Linked DNA regions of Homo sapiens: region 2 is linked to region 1. Evidence: promoter capture Hi-C in human tissues and cell types (Jung and others, 2019). All regions are on one chromosome and are shown on one strand. The core of a region is centred on a gene start or on the middle of the fragment in contact, and the rest is flanking DNA. Distances in the headings are between cores, read along the strand shown. Region 1 overlaps IREB2 (iron responsive element binding protein 2). Region 2 holds the start of CRABP1 (cellular retinoic acid binding protein 1).

Region 1 (3,409 bases), core at 335-2,834:
TTTTGTTTTTTGTTTTTTGAGACAGAGTCTCGCTCTGTTGCCCAGGCTGGAGTGCAGTGGCAAGGTCTCCGCTCGGTGTAGAATCTGCCTCCTGGGTTCAAGCAATTCTTGAGCCTCAGCCTCCTGAATAGCTTGGATTACAGGTGCATGCCACCATGCCAGGCTAATTTTTGTATTTTTAGTAGAGACGGGGTTTCGCCATGTTGGTCAGGCTGGTCTGTAACTCTTGACCTCGAGTGATCCACCCACGTCGGCCTCCCAAAATTTTGCGATTACAGGCGGTGAGCCACCGTGCCTGGCCACTTAATAAAATCTAAAACTGAGTTCGTATTCAGATTTTTCTGGTTATCTCAAAAATACATTTTTACATTTGGTTTGTTGAAACAGTATCCAAATAGGGCCAACACAGTATTTGGTTGTTACGTCTTTTAAGTTTCTTGTAATCTGTAATAGTCTTCCTCTCCTCTTTTTTCGTGCCATTTTTATGTTGAAAAACCTAGGTTCTTTATCCTGTAGAATGTCCCACATTCTAGATTTGGCTGATAGCTTCTTTGGGGTTTCATTTTACTTTCCTACTAACCCCCATGTTTTCAGTTAACTGGAAGTTAGAGCTAGAGGTTTAATTAGATTCAGGTTTATTTTTGCAAGATAGTAAGTGTTCTTATTTTTGCGAGAACACTTCCTAGTTGGAACATGTAGTTTTTTGTTTCATCAGGAGGCAAATAATATCTCTAATATCTTACTTTTGGTGATGCTAAGTGGGTATGAGTGTTACCAGCTTGTAAGCGCGCCATCCACATAAATCCTAATGATTTTAGCACCCATTTGTGACCATTATCTAGATCCATTATTTCATTAGGTGTTGCACATTGGTGATCTTTCAGATTACATCGTTTCTTCCACATTTACTAGCTGTAATTCTTCTATAACAAAGTACTTTTGTCTATTTGGTTACCTGAAAGGAGGAAAGATAATATTAACTATTGATTTTCCCCCTTTATTTGTCAGTTTTCAGAGTAATGAGTTGATGCCCTAGCAACTCTCATTGGTGATCAATGAAAGGTTTTTTAAGAGTCATTATGAACTAAGGGCTACTTATATATTTGATGTATTTTGGTGAATTATAGTTATTACTCATTTTGATGCTCAGATTGACCCGTTAGTGTCCCCATTAGTCTTTGATAACTTCTTTGGTTTCGGACACAAGATATCCAGGCTCATTTTGTACAAATCCTTCTCCAGATTAGAATCAGTCATTTCTCTGAAAAACTGTTCTGTTGTGTGTGTTTAGGAAATAGTTTTTAGAAACAACAAACAGTTGTTAAGGGTTTGTTACTGTTGGGTTGTTATTCTAGGCATTTTCAGTGACAGAGCTAGAAAATACCTAATTTTTAGGAAGAGAAAAATAAATCATGAGTTCGTATCCATGTTTATAATTGAAATGTAAGGACTTAACTTGGCTACTGTGATTTTTTTTTCCAGATTTTAAAAATAAGCTTCATTTTAAAAAAAATTAACGTGCGCTATTGGAAACTGAAAAACACAAGAAATGAGGAACAGAGTCATCCACAATCATAAGCAGTTTGACATGCCCTTCTAGGTCTTGTGTGTGTATATACATAACATCCATTTTTATGTGATTGAGATCATACAGTATGTATCATGCTTTTTCACATATCATGAACATTTATTAGTTCAGAACCCCAAAGCTACCTTCTGCCGTTCAGCTGCCAACCTATTGAATGAGTCCTGATACACCCTACCTAGGTGGTTTAACAGTTCCATGTTCAAGATGCGTCTTTTCCATCAATTATACCAAGATATTTACAAATTGGCTAACTCACTATCTCTGCTTTTTATCATACATTGTCACCTCAGGACATCTATAAAGCTTAGATGTTGCAAAATAAAGATTGAACTTTGTTCACAGTAAACAGATGAGTTACCAAAAATGCACATAGAGACCTATGGTTAAAATCTAAAACCTGTCCTCTGGATATGGAGACACTAGTAAAGAGCCTTACCCTTCACCCCTTTTCCCTCTTCTATCATTTCAGTGACTAAGTACATTACTGCATCTAGCTCTTAGAAGTAGGTTAACAAATACCACTCCCAGAAGACAGGCCTTCCTAAAAAAAAGGATGTTTAAAAACGGATTATTTTACTGCCTCTACTTTTAACATACTTTGAGCCTTAGGAGTTGTTTATCCTTTACACACAACAGTATTAACTAAATTACATATATAGAACAATGGTTAGACAATCTGAACTAATGTAACTCACAGGCACAGAAGTCTTCTCTCTGCATACTTCCTCCTCCTCGCCCCCCTCCACCTCACCCAGTGAGCAGGAAATGCAAACGCTCCTGTGAAATAACAAAAAAATACTTAGTGTTACTTTAGCTCTCATTAGCTACTCTGATTTTATACTTCTGTGCTCTTGAAACCATAGTAACAAAAAGTACTTTTTTGCTTGCTGCTTGTTACACCAGTCACAATCTCTGAATAGCAGCACTAATGACTGAATATAGTTTTCTTTCTTTGTGATACCTTTTTGTACCAAAAAGGTACTCCCAATAAGGAAGTACAGTGGAAATACCGTGTGAGATATATGCTTAGTTTTTTTGTTTATCCTTTCGTTGTTTCTTTTTGTTAAAATATGCATGCTAATATATTTTTAAAATTATATTTCTCATAATACACATTTGATGATCTTATGTTTATTTTAAAATAATATATTATGGATATGTTTTTAAACTCTCTTTCTTACAGGAAAGTTAGCATACTATAAACACTGTTCTGCCCTGCTTTTTCTCTTAATGATATATATTCTGGAGCTCACTGTTTATCAGCATGTAACTCTTCACTCCTTTAAACAGCTGCATGGTAATCCATTGTGTGGATTACAGTGATTTATTCAACTAACCCCATATTAATTCAGTCTTCTCTTTAAATCCTAAGGAAACACTTTTGTGTGGCACAATCTGGTGTGAGAATTTAATATGATTGAAAATTTTAAAATATTGAAATCACTTTCTCAATTGTGTCCTTGAAGTAATTAAGAGTGAATCAAAGTTTTCGTGAAATGAATTTTACTCACTCAGGCATTCCAATTTACTTTTAAACTTTAATCATTTTTGATGGAAAATTTTAAATTTATTACAGACATTTATACAGTTTAATCATTTTCTTTTTGCCATACCAGGGGATGTCTGCATTATTGAATTGAATTCTGATATTCTGTGCTTTTTTTTAGTTTTTCTGTGAATTCCTTGAATATGAAGTATTTGTCATAGTTGCAGTATGATATTCCTAAATTAATGCAGCTCTTGTATGAAGGTTTTTATCTCTGCTTTTTTCAAGGCTTTGAGGTTATGTACAGGAAAGTCAGTTACAAAACACCTGATGTT
Region 2 (3,409 bases), core at 300-2,799, 120 kb before region 1:
TTCTAAGTGCATGGCCCTGTGTGACTGCACAGACGGCACGTCCAGAATGCCGGCCCTGCCCATGCCCCTTTCCAGCTGGTGATGGCCCCACTCCCCTCTCCTGTCCTCAGCTGCTTTCTTAGACAGATCCTCGGAGCCTCCTGGCAGCAACCCAGCCCCAGCCACCTCCAGAAGTTTCCAGGGCCCTGTTCAGTAGGCACTCAGCACAGATTCCCCAAGGTCCTGGGGGAATCTTCACCCCAGGCCACCACTCACATCCTCCTCAAATCAATGCACAGTTATCGAGCCCCACCTGGCTAAGCCTTAGGAAGGGAGGACAAGTGGATAAACGATCACTGCCCTCCAGGAGTTCAGTTTATAGCAGAGCGAAGACTTGAACAAGAGCAGGACCGGACAAGAATCCTGTCAATTCAGAGAAAAATAATCACAGTTTATTAGGAAACTGAATTTCACAAAAGAGAGAGCATAAAGATGGGCTTTCGTGAATGGGCAAGATTTGATTAACCCGATGAGGAAAGGGGCATTCAAGGAAGAAGCCATGGCATGGGCAAAAACTTAGAGATAATAAAATGCATGGCACGTTCTAGAATCCTGAATTGTACAGTTTGGCTGAGGTGTGCAGATGGTAAAATAGTGGGAAAAAGCTGGAAGGAAAATGTACAGAGAAGAGCTACAAGGGTAATAGTGAAGTGTTTGTACTCCCTTAGTGGAAACACCGAGGGGACTTTAGGTCGTGATGTTTAGGTTATTTGGGAGCAAAGGGAGAAGACTTCCTCCCCTTGGCCCTCACAGCCTGCCCGAAGAGTGCAAAGCCTCACGCTTTTGCAAAACAGGCCGCACCTAGCCCAGATTCTGGAGCTGATTCAGTCCATGCCTCTCGACCCACAGTTTGTCCTGAGCCCTGACAAAGGTCTGGCCCCCTCCTGCACTCGGAACGCGGAGGACCCGCAGCTCGTGGATTCGCGCCTCAGTGCCCAAGCTGGTGTTGATGGGGGTTGCGGTTTCCTGCCACTCACTCCCCATGGGTCCTGTGGGGGGCGTGGGGATGCGGGGAGAGGGTTTCAGAATAGGATCCCGGACTGGGAGGGAAGGGACACCATCTGGGCACACCCAGTAGGTACGACCGGAGGTGAAAAAAGAGTGGGTCCCATCCCCTGATGGCCCCGCTCGCTATCCACTTTAAGTTTATGTTATGGATATTTTCAAACATATTCAAAAGTAGAGAGAAAAGTAGAATCATAACCCAAGTCCACACCGCCCAGCTTCAACAGTTATCCCCTCCAAGCCCATCTTGTTTCAGCTAACCCTCTCCCACCACCCATTTTAAAGCGGGATGTGGGTGTCCTGAGGGAGGTGGAGGCTCCCCAGTTGGAGAGCGGGTGCCCGCACCTCTGGAGGCTGAGGCACAACTGGGCTGGGAGTTGAGCGCATACCGAGTAGGGGCTGCGGGGGAGCGGGGGCAGGGCCGGCGGGGCGGGGCCAGAAGCCCGGCGGGGTTGGGGGCGCTCTCCTAGTGACTCAAGGCGCGCAGCGCTGGGCGCAAAGCGCCAGTCTCCGCCTTGCGAGCTCAGAGTGTGCCCGCTGCGCCGCCGCTGTCCGTACCTGCCGCCGCCGCCACCGCCACCATGCCCAACTTCGCCGGCACCTGGAAGATGCGCAGCAGCGAGAATTTCGACGAGCTGCTCAAGGCACTGGGTAAGCTGGTGCAGAGGGCGCGCCCCGACGGGGAGATGCGGCCCGGAGGTGCCCTGGTCCCGGAAGTGCCCCGGTCCTGGAGGGGGTGGAAGTTGGGGAGCCCAGGCAGGAGGGAGTCCCCGGGGCAATAGATCGCCTTGTCTCCCAGGCGCACCGGGTCTCGGAGAAGCTGGTAGAGATCCCGGAACCCACGCGTTCAGCGAACGTTTGCTGAATGTTTGGCGCCCTCCTCGATGGTGCGGACTTTATCTCGTGCTAGATCATAGCGAGGAGAGATTACTGGAGAGCAAGGAGGATCAGGGACTTAAATTTGGAGACTCAAATTTGGGACCAGGCTCTGCCACGAATTCACTGTGCAACTCGAGGAAAGTCACTTACCCTCTCTGTGCCTCAGTCTCTCATCTCGAAAACAAGGGCGAGGGCAGGGAAACGAGTGGATCAATTTTAAGGCCCCTTTCTAAAGTTAGGGTATGACCAGTGCCCGACCGGTCCCGAGACTGGCGGCGAGGCCCCGTGACCCAAGCCTGTGGTGCACCCTGCGCAGGTGTGAACGCCATGCTGAGGAAAGTGGCCGTAGCGGCTGCGTCCAAGCCGCACGTGGAGATCCGCCAGGACGGGGATCAGTTCTACATCAAGACATCCACCACGGTGCGCACCACTGAGATCAACTTCAAGGTCGGAGAAGGCTTTGAGGAGGAGACCGTGGACGGACGCAAGTGCAGGGTGAGGCCCCAGAGCCACTACAGCGTCCCCGTGTCCCCGCTCGGTGCCCATGGCCCACTGCTGCTGGAGGAACCTGTGTCTCCCTTTGCAGCCTGTGGCGCGCCTTCCTTGCAGGGTGTGTACACTGGCTGTTTGCAGAGGGGGTTTGTGCATCCTAGTTGCCCCTGGCTCAAGACAAAGTATTACCTTCATTCCATCTCAACCCCATCCCTACGCTGCCTCCCGGGGTGCTAACAGCCGCGCTTAAAGAGCGGGCTCTGGGTTGCGCCGCGTTCCCAGCAGTGGCTTTTGCAGCGGTTTGCAGCGCCAAGCGCAGGCGGCGCAGGAGGAGGAGGAGGTTGCAGGAGCCGCCAGGTTCTCTGTCGCAGGTGAAGCCGCAGCTCTTGCATTCCTTTCCCGCCGTATCCCCCGCGCCCGCCCGGGTCCCTGGGCCGCCTGGGTACGCTCTGGATACAGTTTTAGCAGTCCCGATGGCCCCGTCACCTCTCCCTTCCCGCCTTCGGCCTGGTTCCTTAAAGGAACGGCGGAGTCTTTCCAAAAGCAAGGCAGGTTCTGGCTGGGAAAATGGACTAGTTGCCCTCTCTTAGTCCTCAAGGGCAAGAGTTTTTTTTTATTTCTCCATGCATCGGCCCAGGGATGAACCGGTGGATTGAAGCAAGGGGTTGTACATTCGTTTTTTGCATGGGCAAAAATTGCATTTGGTTAACCAGATGGAAAAATAATCACCGGTGCTACCACTTATTTAAAAAGTGACAGAATGTCTCCCTCCCCTTCTCCAATTTTTTTTTTTTAAAGAAAAAAGTCGTAACATTCCAGAGAGTGGGAAATTGTTTCTTTCACCTTTCCTGAGCAGTGCCTGGTCTGATCTCGGAATGGGACTCTCTGAGCACCGGGCTTGGAAGGACAAAGAAACAAAGCCCCCCAGAAGCAGGCTGATCTAGGAGGCAATCTTTGGCTCCAGAATTGTCATAGCCTGGAAATGATCTCCACG

Evidence for each region. The method cuts DNA at HindIII sites, captures the fragments that hold promoters and counts their contacts. A contact is called where the count stands out against the background at its distance.
Region 2: a contact is called between the fragment with the promoter of CRABP1 here and a fragment that was not itself captured in region 1, in 5 of the 25 tissues and cell types used here (adrenal gland, dorsolateral prefrontal cortex, mesenchymal stem cells and 2 more).

What each region holds. Positions count from the first base shown.
Region 1 is chr15:78,459,350-78,462,758 of GRCh38, forward strand. The region is part of intron 2 of IREB2 (iron responsive element binding protein 2); the gene reads left to right. Among named protein-coding and RNA genes, the nearest start is that of IREB2, 23 kb to the left of the region's middle. The HindIII fragment of the contact is 5,727 bases long and covers 1-3,409 here.
Region 2 is chr15:78,338,804-78,342,212 of GRCh38, forward strand. It overlaps CRABP1 (cellular retinoic acid binding protein 1), which reads left to right and starts at 1,550. Exons shown (of 4, transcript NM_004378.3): 1 at 1,550-1,695; 2 at 2,240-2,418. The coding sequence starts at 1,626. RefSeq lists an enhancer at 1,100-1,728. The HindIII fragment of the contact is 13,960 bases long and covers 1-3,409 here.